Regions from separate parts of the Homo sapiens genome. Here all the other regions are linked to region 1. Evidence: promoter capture Hi-C in 16 types of primary human blood cells and fetal thymus (Javierre and others, 2016). All regions are on one chromosome and are shown on one strand. The core of a region is centred on a gene start or on the middle of the fragment in contact, and the rest is flanking DNA. Distances in the headings are between cores, read along the strand shown. Region 1 holds the start of TMEM52B (transmembrane protein 52B). Region 2 holds the start of MAGOHB (mago homolog B, exon junction complex subunit). Region 3 overlaps LINC02446 (long intergenic non-protein coding RNA 2446). Region 4 holds the start of EIF2S3B (eukaryotic translation initiation factor 2 subunit gamma B).

Evidence for each region. The method cuts DNA at HindIII sites, captures the fragments that hold promoters and counts their contacts. A CHiCAGO score of 5 or more calls a contact.
Region 2: a fragment that was not itself captured here is called in contact with the fragment with the promoter of TMEM52B in region 1 in 1 of 17 cell types (naive CD8 T cells); the score reaches 5.1 in naive CD8 T cells.
Region 3: a fragment that was not itself captured here is called in contact with the fragment with the promoter of TMEM52B in region 1 in 1 of 17 cell types (naive CD4 T cells); the score reaches 5.3 in naive CD4 T cells.
Region 4: a contact is called between the fragment with the promoter of EIF2S3B here and the fragment with the promoter of TMEM52B in region 1, in 1 of 17 cell types (naive CD8 T cells). The highest score is 6.2, in naive CD8 T cells.

The regions. Positions count from the first base shown.
Region 1 is chr12:10,177,537-10,180,481 of GRCh38, reverse strand. TMEM52B (transmembrane protein 52B) reads right to left here and starts at 1,450. Exons shown (of 5, transcript NM_001384896.1): 1 at 854-1,450. The coding sequence starts at 907. RefSeq lists an enhancer at 1-1,092. The HindIII fragment of the contact is 29,503 bases long and covers 1-2,945 here.
Region 2 is chr12:10,613,029-10,615,973 of GRCh38, reverse strand. It overlaps MAGOHB (mago homolog B, exon junction complex subunit), which reads left to right and starts at 2,365. Exons shown (of 5, transcript NM_018048.5): 1 at 2,365-2,535. The coding sequence starts at 2,442. RefSeq lists enhancers at 1,551-2,428, 2,245-2,644, 2,429-2,945. The HindIII fragment of the contact is 670 bases long and covers 1,361-2,030 here.
Region 3 is chr12:10,561,607-10,564,551 of GRCh38, reverse strand. The region is part of intron 1 of LINC02446 (long intergenic non-protein coding RNA 2446); the gene reads right to left. Among named protein-coding and RNA genes, the nearest start is that of LINC02446, 9.7 kb to the right of the region's middle. The HindIII fragment of the contact is 2,885 bases long and covers 85-2,945 here.
Region 4 is chr12:10,504,334-10,507,278 of GRCh38, reverse strand. It overlaps EIF2S3B (eukaryotic translation initiation factor 2 subunit gamma B), which reads right to left and starts at 1,389. Exons shown (of 1, transcript NM_001357734.3): 1 at 1-1,389. The coding sequence starts at 1,376. The region is part of intron 3 of LOC105369657 (a long non-coding RNA gene); the gene reads left to right. The HindIII fragment of the contact is 5,298 bases long and covers 1,139-2,945 here.

The DNA of each region.
Region 1 (2,945 bases), core at 201-2,700:
TTCACTTTCTTCACTAAAGGTAAGAGAAGCCTAAAGTGCTCAGCAGAGAAAATGCTACTTTTCAGGCTTGTTGCAAAGAGAAAAGAAAGGAAAAATGAAGGGAAGACAAGGCAAAGGGAGTGAAGAGGAAGCAAAAAGAAAATATAAGAAAAAATGGATTTTCAGATACCACTTTAACTGTTCTATTAGCAAAAAAAAAAAAAAAACAAACCATACAGCCCACTCTGTACGGGGGCCATACGGGAATCTGAGACTATCCAGTTTTCTTCATTTGCTCTCCTTCTTGCTAGATGGCATAGCTCTATAAACTTCCCTGTGACAATTGTTTAGAATCCCTCAGTCCAGTGACCCTTTTCTCCACTAATGGATTACTCAGAGACTTCTGATTCATTGTGGGGCCCAAAATATTTTAAAAGAGCCCTGCCTCTCTTATTTCTAGACTAGAGGCACCTAAACTGCTAGAACAGGATTAGAAATTCCTGGATGGGAAATTCCGTTTAGGGGAATTACACACCTAGTTTTCATAATTTGTTTGGAATTTTGAGGGATGGGTGATAAGATGCTAAAAGAGATAAAATACTTCAGCGGCACTTCTAAAGTGCCACGGCAATCCTGCTCGTTTCCATGCTCACTCTAATTTCTGTCCCCCTTTTCATTGTCATTGCCATCAGTCACACATGCATCTATGCAATCTCGTAATACTAAGGAAACTTTGTAGTTTATTCATTTCCCTATGACCCCCTGGGTTCTGTATATGTCTCCCCACCCCGCAGTTCATTTCCTTTCAGACTCTTCTGAGAGTTGATTAATCTGGGGAAAAATACTCTTTCTGCCTTTTCACCACTGAACTCACCAGGATGAAATACAGCAGGGCTGAGGCCGCCACGACATGAACTCGGACTCCCATCGGGCTGAATTCCTGCTTCTTCAGAATCTTGCACTGGGCATCCGTTGCCTCCTTTCAATGCTCTGTGCCATATTTTACTTCTTGACCTAGAATTCTTAAGAAGAGAAACTTTTCTCAGGAATTTATCAGCTTTTCTCTCTCTCGTTCTCTCTGTCTCCTCCTACTCGCTCTGGCTGTTATTTTCTATGGCTTTTCCCTCTTCTTTCCTGTTTTTCTTCTTTATTCTTATTACTATTTCTATGGCCTCCACATTTACTTCCTTTTGCCTTCTTTCTTTCCGTTACACTATTAATTCTTTCTACATCTTGAAGTTTCTTTCTCCTACTGCTCCCAAAAAGGAGACATTCAAAGAGGACATATGTGTCCTCTGAATGAAGTATTTTTCTAGACAGCGATGAAAAACTTGGCTTTGAGGATGGTCAAAGGCAGATTGCTGGTGACCAAATATATTCCTTTCTTCATCAGAAAACTGGTAATATTCTTGATCCTTCACCAGAGTACTCCAGCGTGACTGTTGCAGGGTGAAAGTCACCCTGCTAATCTCCTTTCTTCTCTCTCCGTGTGACTAACAACCCCTTCTTGCTCTTTGAAACCCTCCCCTTCACTATGTTGATAATCAACTCTCCTGGTTCTGGGTCATTTATATCCCTAAGCATTGGGGTAAGACTGAGAGGTTGCCAAGTGAACAGGAAAGCCATCTCATCTTTGGAGAAAACAGACTTGAAGATGAGAAATCAAGTCGGAAGATTAGAATTTTCAGGTGTTATCAGTGACATCTTCCTCCTCCCTGACTTCACTTCCCATTGAAATAGATAACTGAGAAAGACATTTTTTTAAAACCAAATTTTAAAAAAGCAAATGTATAGGTTTCTTTCTTTCTTGCCTTTTCTTTGTTCCTTCTTTCTCTCTCTTTCTCTCTCTCTCTCTCTCTTTGGTTAAGGAGTGATGTGATTGAGAAATAAGTCTTGTCACTCAGGAAAATAAAACCTAAGGTTAGAGTAAAAACAAGCACACATGCAAAAGCATAGAATACTTTTTTTTTTTTTTTTTTTGAGACGGAGTCTTGCTCTGTCACCCAGGCTGGAGTGCAGTGGCGCAATCTCGGCTCACTGCAAACTCTGCCTCCTGGGTTCATGCCATTCTCCTGCCTCAGCCTCCCGAGTAGCTGGGAATACTGGCGCCCACCACCACGCCCGGCTAAGTTTTTTTGTATTTTTAGTAGAGACGAGACGGGGTTTCACCATGTTAACCAGAATGGTCTCGATCTCCTGACCTCATGATCCGCCCGACTCGGCCTCCCAAAGTGCTGGGATTACAGGCGTGAGCCACCGTGCCTGGCCTAGAATACTTACAATGAAACAAAGCTATAGACACAAATGTGGCCGGGTGCCATGGCTCATGCCTGTAATCCCAGCACTTTGGGAGGCCAAGGCGGGCTGATAACTTCGGCCAGGAGTTTGAGACCAGCCTGGAGAACATGATGAAACCCTTTCTCTACGAAACATACAAAAATTAGCTGTGTGTCATGGCAGGCACCTGTAATCCCAACTACTTGGGAGGCTGAAGCAGGAGGGCCACTTGAACCCGGAAGGCAGAAGTTGCAGTGAGCCGAGATCACACCACTGCACTCCAGCCTGGGTGATAGAGCGAGAATCTGCCTCAAAAAAGCAAAATATTAAAAGAAACAAAAGAATGCTGTATGAATGATTTATACTTAAGTAGGTGATCTTTTACTTAATACCAAATGTTTAATAAAAAAATTATTATTATTATTATTATTATTATTATTATTATTATTATTATTATTTGAGACAGAGTCTCTCTGTCACCAGGCTGGAGGGCAGTGGTGCAATCTCGGCTCACTGCAACCTCTGCCTCCTGGGTTCAAGCAATTCTCCTGCCTCAGCCTCCTGAGTAGCTGGGATTATAGACACCTGCCACGACACCCAGCTAACTTTTCTATTTTCAGTAGAGACAAGGTTTTACCATATTGGCCAGGCTGGGATAAGAAAAGTAGAAGTTAGTTTACAGTGATATA
Region 2 (2,945 bases), core at 446-2,945, 440 kb before region 1:
TTGGCACATGTGCCAAAAACCTGAAGGAGAGACATTAGGGAATCTAAGATATTGAATGAGGCTTTCCATATAATTCAACAAAATGGATTACAGCTGATATTTCCAGAGATACTACGGAATAGAGTGTTCAAATTTCTGTGAATTATTCTTGTGGTAAGTGTGGTGACCAACCCATCTCAGTTTGCCTGGGTGTTTCCAGGTATGGAAAGTCCCATTTCCCAGGAAACTCCACAGTCCTGGTCAAACTGGAACGGCTAGTCACCCTAGTGGTAAAACATGGTGCTTCCTGTTTCTTACGTACTTTCCAAAATGGTGGCCCATTGTAGGGACTGATTCATTTTTCTATATTAATAGTTATATAACTACTAATATGGACTCAAGGAAACGTGGCCCAATTTGCCTTTTTAGTCATTCTACTTGAACCTTATGCTCTAGCTATACCGAATTTCTTAGTGTTCCCCAAACATGAATTTTCACACCACTGTCTTTGCTCGGGTCATTTTCTGCCTGGAATGCTTTTTCATCCCACTGAACATACACAGAACTTACTTCTCAAGGTCCAATTCAAACACTTCCGTTGACAAGCCTTTTCCAATACTCTTTTTTCAAATTTCCCTACTCTGCAATAGAATGCTCTTGCTTCCTCTGCTGTACTACCGGCATGTTTTACACACTTTTTTTTTTTTAGACGAAGTTTCGCTCTTGTCACCCAGGCTGGAGTGCAACTGCGCGATCTCCGCCTCTCGGGTTCAAGCGATTCTCCTGCCTCAGCCTCCTGAGTAGCTAGGATTACAGGCACGTGCCACCAAACCTGGCTAATTTTTGTATTTTTAGTAAAGACAAGGTTTTGCCATGTTGGCCAGGCTGGTCTTGAACTCCTGACCTCGGGTGATTTGCCCCCTTTGGCCTCCCAAAGTGCTGGGATTACAGGCATGAGCCACTGCGCCCGGCCACATATAGGCTTTCTTTTCTTTTTCTTTTTTTTTTTTTTTTTTTTTTGAGACAGAGTTTCGCTCTTGTTGCCCAGGCTGGAATGCAGTGGCACGATCTCAGCTCACTGAAACCTCTGCCTCCAGGGTTCAAGCAATTCTCCTGCCTCAGCCTCCCGCGTATCTGGTATTACAGGCACGCGCCACCACGCCCAGCTAATTTTTTTGTATTTTTAATAGAGACGGGGTTTCACCATGCTGGCCAGGATGGCACATATATTCTTAATTATAGCAATTGCTCCCTTGTGCTGGTATTCGCCTTACGTGTTTGCTTTCTTTTCTAGACTACCAGATCAAATGGCTTATTTCTAGTTTCAAACTGTCACATAGGAAATGTTTGTTAAAACTAATGTTTTATAAAATTTAAAGCTTATTTTACATATTATCTCATTAGATCTCTCAAGAATTCTGTGAGCTTGGCAATGTAGATTGCTGTATATGCATTAGGCTGATGAACAAACAGGCTTAGAGATAGTCACTTGCCCGAGGTTAGTTAGCTGTTAAGTGTTGGGATTGAATCCCAGGTCTTCTCTCCACCACTTTCTACTAAAAATCACTGAAGGTTGTCAACCGACAGATAGGATTACTCTGTGTGTTGATAACAAAAGGGTGATCAATAATATCTGAAAAGGAAACTTTGTGTAAAAGTCTTTCCCTTACCTTAAAAACTACGCCACACTGGAGCATTCTTTCATTCCCCCAATTTAATTCTATCTGGCGAGAAACAATAATGGGCTAAACCATTATTGTATCGTAAGTCAAATTGCCAAAACTTCACAGGCTACTAAAAGTTAACCCTTATTGAATGAATTAAGAACCTTAGAAGTTCTGCTGTTAAAAAAAGCACGGTGACTGTCAGGGTTTTTCAGGTGTGGGGGGTGTGAGGGTTTTAAGAGTTGGATTCCTTTGACTTTGTCTCTATTATTATAGGCTTAGAGGTCCCGGGTAACTACCAATCGCTATCCAAAGGGAAAGCACCCTGTTAGAAATTAAGTAAGAAAAATAGTTTATATTCCCGGTCTGCCATTTCGATTCTAAGCTTTATCTTTATTTAGCTCACAGTTAAAGGGGGCATAGAGCCACACCCACCTCACAAACGCCGCAAGGATTGGGAGACCAGAAAAGTAAAAGTGACTTGCAAACCTTTAGCTCTAAGTCCATAAAAAAGACTATCATATGCTCACATTTCTAATCTTTGCTAGTATAATGTAATCTTTATTTTGAAAACAATGTGCCTCCATTCCTAGTAAAGCGAAAGTCACGGCGCTGCGACCCTCCCTTCAGCGCCTCCGGACTCTCACGCGATACTCGGCTTTCACGCTTTAGTCTAGGGCTGCACTGCAGGAGGAAGAGAAGCGCCTGTGGTGACGCACTTATTCCGCGCGATGACGTCACTGCAAGGCGCCGGGGGACACGTTGGCTGCGTTTTCGGCGGGCTTCCCGGGTACAAAAATGGCTGTGGCTAGCGATTTCTACCTGCGCTACTACGTAGGGCACAAGGGCAAGTTTGGGCACGAGTTTCTGGAGTTCGAATTTCGGCCGGACGGTGAGAAGAGGCCCACGGCACGCGGTGCTGGGAAAGGGGAGCGAGACCGAGAGGCCGGGTGGTGTGGAGGGTACAGGCGGCGGAGGCCACTGCTTCCCTCGAAGGAAATAGGAGCTTAAGAATAGAGGAGGCATAAGTTGGTTTTATAAATGAAAGAGAATTAATTGCAATAAATTAAAGCTAATCCTGTCACAAACTGAAAAGTTGAACCTACAGTAATCAGAATTCTGTAACAGTGCACCAGAAGGGACTCTAGATCGTCGCCCTGATTGAAAATGCTAGCACTTTTTTGAAAACACCCCCACCAGCGGGTGGTCCAGTGGATGAATAAAATCTTGTGGTGACCAGTACCTTTTTTTCATTTAGGCTGTGTGTTTTCTTTGAAGGGGAGGAGCCCAACGTGTTAACAA
Region 3 (2,945 bases), core at 278-2,777, 380 kb before region 1:
ATGTAACAAACCTGCACGTTCTGCACATGTATCCCAGAACTTAAAGTATAATTCAAAAATAATAATAATAATGAAAAGGAAGCTTACTACAAAACTTTCATTTCTCTTTTCCTAGGATATAGAATTTCTAAGTGGCCCTTAAATAATACAATAAAGCATACATAATTTGTAATAATCCTAACATAAAATATCAGTATATAATAGAGATAGGATAATACATAATGAAATGTTGGTTGAGACTTGAAACGTATCATTTATGATGGAGATATTAGGTTATAAAAATCCAAAAACATGTGAAAGATGAGAATTTGAAATGTCTTATTTTTATAACAAAAGAAGTTTAACTCTAAAATAGGAGATGACTTCATGGCCTGCAGCTGGAGTTAATTATCGTGGCAAAAACAAACGGGTCCCAAACTGACTAAAAATCAGTTGCTTGACCAGCCATTTACTGAAATATTTTGCTTATTGGTCTAGGGAGATCACTACAAGCCCAGAAAGATGTAAAAGGATGCATTAATACAACTAATGGAAGTTATCAAGTGGAATTATAGCCTTAGAGAAGAATAAAAATTATAGGAATAACAAAAGAAATGAAGTTTAAAAACTATTGTTATATTTTAGGATAGGTTTAAGAGTAAGCAATAGGTTTTGTAATAATTTTCTTTGGGTATATTTGCTACTTAAGGTGTTTGAGGTGCTCAAAAGACTTAGCTTAACTAAATCTGTAATTGTAGTTTAAATTTGTATAGGACTTAAGTAATTTTGTATAGGACTTGAGTAATTATGTTGAAATCACTATTCAAATGTTTGAATAGCTTTCTTTCTTTTTTTTATTTTTTTAAGACAGGGTTTCTTGCTCTGTCACCCAGGCTGGAGTGCAATGGGCGATCTTGGTTCACTGCAGCCTCCACCTCCCGACTTCAAGTGATTCTCCTGCCTCAGTCTCCTGAGTAGCTGGGATTACAGGCATGGGCCACCATGCCTGGCTAATTTCTGTATTTTTAGTAGAGATGGGGTTTCACCATGTTGGCTAGGCTGATCTTTGAACTCCTGTCCTCAAGTGATCCGTCCACCTCAGCCTCCCAAAATGCTGGGATTACAGGCATGAGCCACCAGGCCAGGCTCAAATTCTTTTTATTAGTTAATTAGTTAACTATTTGTGTGTAACAAATTACTAAATTATCCCACAACTTATGCTTTTTTTGGGTCAGGAATCCAGCCATGGGTGACTCTGACTTAGAGTTTCTCACAAGGATGCCTTTGGGGTGTGGGTGAGGGCTACAGTCATCTGAAGGCTCAGTTGGGGCAGACTCATATGCAGCCTCATGCACATGCTGTTGGCTGGTGTGAGGTCCTCACTCACTGTTAACAGGAGAAATGTCAATGCCTTGCCTCATAGACCTCTCCATAGAGCTACTCACTTCATGGCAGTTTGTTATTCTGTTTTCTGCTGGGGACGTGTATGTGGGAGAGGGGAGTGGGAGAGAAAGAGGGAGAGAAAGAGAAACAGAGATGCCAACTTGAGCACACACTCTGGGAAGAAGATTATACAATGGCATGAATACCAAGAAGTGGAATGATGACTGGAGTTATTTTAGAGAAAGTCAACCACAATTACATATCATACATTTGATAAAAATGATTCAAATGACAAATATTAGTAAATATTAGTCACCACTTGTGAAAGCCTTTGGTAAAATTTATAGTGGTAAATTTGCATTATGTATCCCCATTAAACTACACATTCCTGGAAATCATGCATGGAGACTTCATCTTTTTCATCAGCAGGGAATAGTACTACCATGTGGTAGGTACTCCAAAAACTCAGGTTGAAGAGATGAATGAATGAGCATTGTTTGAGTTTGTAATCTTCATTTTACATGGCTCCTGATAATTTTTAGAAATCCAAACAGCAAGAATGCTTTCTGACAACGTATAAGACTTGTGCTATTTGCCATCACCTTATAAATTTAATTTTGCTCATTACAGTTTTCAAAAGGTTTTTCACTTCTGATTCTGTAATTTTGTACTAGGCCACCAGATGGCATCACCACATAAACCAAGCTCTAAAATCAAGGCTTATTTGAAAATTAGTCTTGCTGGTCAGAATGAAGTAATAACTATATTCTCATAAACTGCTGTAGCAAATGTTAGTAGATAACTACTGCACACAAATTTAGCAAAATATATTGATAACCTTAAAAAATGGTAGTACTTTTTGAGCCAATGAGTCTACTAGAAATCTATCTTCAGAAAATAATGTGGACAAAATGGTACACACTCAAGATTTTACCTTAGCATTATTGGAATTGTCAAATACCAGGTAAAATCTTGGGTCCAACAATAATGAAAGGGTTAGTATATATGATACAATCATACAATTAAAAAACATACACACTTTCAAATGACTTATGAAGTATTCAATGACATGAGAAATGCTTCTGGCATAATGCTAATTTATGAATTGGGTTGTAAACTAATGTGTGATTCCCAGTATGTTGCATAGAAATTATAGAAAGGAAACATATTAATGTAATTTTATAAGGAAGTGTTTTTCTCTCTTCATATTTCTCCTTGTTACTCCAATTTTTAACAATGACTCCTTGGAACATCATATGTTAATAAGAAAAAATCAAGTTAACAATAACATAACATTAGTTTTTTAGGGCTGGGCATGGTGGCTCACTCCTGTAATCCCAGCCCTTTGGGAGGCTGAGGCAGGTGGATCACCTGATATCAGGAGTTTGAGACTAGCCTGGCCAACATGATGAAACCCCATCTCTACCAAAAAATACTAAAGTTAGCTGTGTGTGGTGGCTCACACCTGTAGTCCCAGCTTACTCAGGAGGCTGAGGCAGCAGAATCCCTTCAATTTGGGAGGCTGAGATTGCAGTGAGCTAAGAAGGCACCATTGCACTCCAGCCTGGGCCACAGAGCAAGAC
Region 4 (2,945 bases), core at 140-2,639, 330 kb before region 1:
ATCTGACCCCAACCAATTAAACGCCAGTGTTTTTCAACTCTTCGGCTAAGGGCAATTTTTTCTCCTACCTCTGTGCACACTGGATTGGTCAAAACAATTTTGCCCAAATCGGCCTTGACAGCACTAACTCTCCCTCCTGTCGACAGGGATCCTATGTTCACCATGAGCACTTCATTCTTAGACAGCTTTTGAACCTTTGCTGCTTTCTTGTCTCCTTCAGTGCGTACACCTAGAAGCCGTCTAAGCAGGAAATAGGAAATTTCCAATTCTGTGAATATCTCAGGTAAAGCTCCGACTGCACCAAGTATTTGCCCCACCATTCTGTCAGCCCGGCACAAAGTGGGGTCAATTTTTGTTCCAACTCCAATAAGACCGCCTGGAGCAGCATATTGCAGATCATTATGCTCCGCAAAAAGTGAAACAATTTTGGAAAAGATTGATTTACACATGAGTTTTCCTTCACTATCTTTGGAAACAATACCAGGTCTTACTTCTGTCTCCTGGCCCACCTTTAATACTCCTTTTAGGATACTACCACCAGCTACACCTCCCTTAAGGTCATCAACTTCACAGCCAGGTTTGTTGACATCAAAAGATCTAATAACAATAAGCCGGGGCTCTGAAGTAAAGTCTCTTGGGGGTACTGGAATTTTCTTTACTATGTACTCACAAACAACTTCAATATTGTATTTCAGCTGAGCCGAAATTGGAATAATGGGAGCTCCCTCTGCTACTGTACCTTGGACAAACGCAAGGATCTGCTCGTATTGTTCTTTAGCCTGCCTTTCTTTTACCAAATCAATTTTATTTTGTAGAATCAAAATATGCTTCAGTTTCATGATCTCTATAGCAGCCAGGTGTTCAGATGTCTGAGGCTGAGGGCAAGATTCATTACCAGCTATCAACAGAAGAGCTGCATCCATCACTGCTGCACCGTTCAGCATAGTAGCCATCAAAATATCGTGGCCAGGACAGTCAACAAAGGAAACATGTCTGACTAATCTGAAGTTCCCTTTGGTTCCTGGAATGTCTGTAGGAAACTCATCAGGCATACTGCTCCCACAAGATCGATAACATTCTGGCCGAGGGCAACTTGGGTCATCAAGTTGATAAATCTTAGCATTAGCATATCCAAGCTTGATTGTAATATTTCTTTCTAGTTCATTTTTGAACCTGACGGTGTGAACTCCAGAAATAGCTTTGACGACTGTGGATTTCCCATGAGCTACATGACCAATTGTACCTATATTAATTGTGGCTTGTCTGCTGATAACTTCGTGTGAAAGTGGCGTCAACTTGGTAACATCCAAGGTGGTGAGATCCTGACGCGAAAGGTGCGGCTGCCCCAGAGTCACCCCAGCTTCTCCGCCCGCCATGTTGCCAAAAGAGGAAGAAAGTCACCCCGGCTGCCGCCTGATCGTCTGCAGGGGTCCTAGTGCGGGGCGGGGATGCGGAGGCCGGAAGGTCGACTAGGGTCTCAGGATGGCCGGTGCAGCAGCGGCCTCAGTGCTTGGACTTCTCTCTGCTTGAATCTGCACAGTGCCTGTCGGTAGGCTTACTGGAAAACACGGTGCAAAGTTGCTGGAGCTATTCGTCGCAGACTTGGTAGATATTTGTGCAGGCAATACTGAGGGCAGCCACCCAAACCCCCGCCCCCTGGGCCCATGCGAGGCGGGTCGAAAATATATTTTCAGTTGACCACAGATAAATACTTAAAAAATTAATGGACCATTGTAATCTATTTATATGAAAATGGATCTTGTATATACAGCCTGCTATTACATTTCTAAGAAGACACAAAACCAGCAACACACTGAATAATTCTACACTAAATATTTTTCTTCTTTAAGAAGATTAATTATTAATATATTTATTTTTTGTTCGAAACAAATAGCTATGTCGTGGTTTATATTATAATTTTCATTTCTTCAAATTATGTTGGAGTGATGACCATTAATAGATGCTATATTGGAGATTTATTACAATAGCTTTATTGAGGTATAGTTTATATACAAAAAAACTGTGCATTTTTAACGTATACAATTTGATGAGTTTGGACATATGCATACATTCGTAATACCATCACCCAATGAAGATAGTAGGCATGTTTATCATCTACAAAGTTTTTCTTGAGTACCTTTATTTTGGGAGCAGAGGGCAAGTAAGACACTTGACATGAGATCTACCCTCCTAGCAGATTTTAAAGTGATCAACGTATTGTTGCTAACTATACGTACTATGTGGTACAGTATATCTCTAGAACTTATTCGTCTTTCGTAACTGAAACTTAACCAATTGAAAGTGAGTCCCTGGTAACCACCATTCTCTGTTCCTATGAATTTGACTACTTTAGATAACTCATATAGTATAATCATAAAGCATTTGTTCTTCTGTGACTGGCTTATTTTATTTAGCTTAATGTCCTCAAGGGTCATTCATGTTGTCATGAATGGCAGAATATTCTTTCTTTAAGGCTGAAGAATATTCCATCATATGTACATACTACATTTTCTTTATCTGTTCATCTGTCAGTGTACATTTAGGTTGTTTAAATATTATTTATTCTTGATAATCCTACCATTGATGTGGGAGTGCAGATATCTCTTCAAGATACTAATTTTAATTCTTTTGGATATACTGTATACCCAGAAGTGATATTATTGGGTTATATGGGTAGTTTTACTCTTAATTTTTGAGGAAGCTCTATACACCTTTTTCATAGTGCATTCTTATCAACAATGTGCTAGGGTTCCAATTTCTTCACATTCTTACCAACATATATATATATATATATATATATATATATATATATATATATATATCTTCATATATATGTATATGGATATATTCGTTTTAAGGAAGAGGGTAATAAATGAAAGTGAGAGGATGGCTCATCTCCTTCTTCTGGGTATATATGAATGAATATATGGATATGTGAATGTATC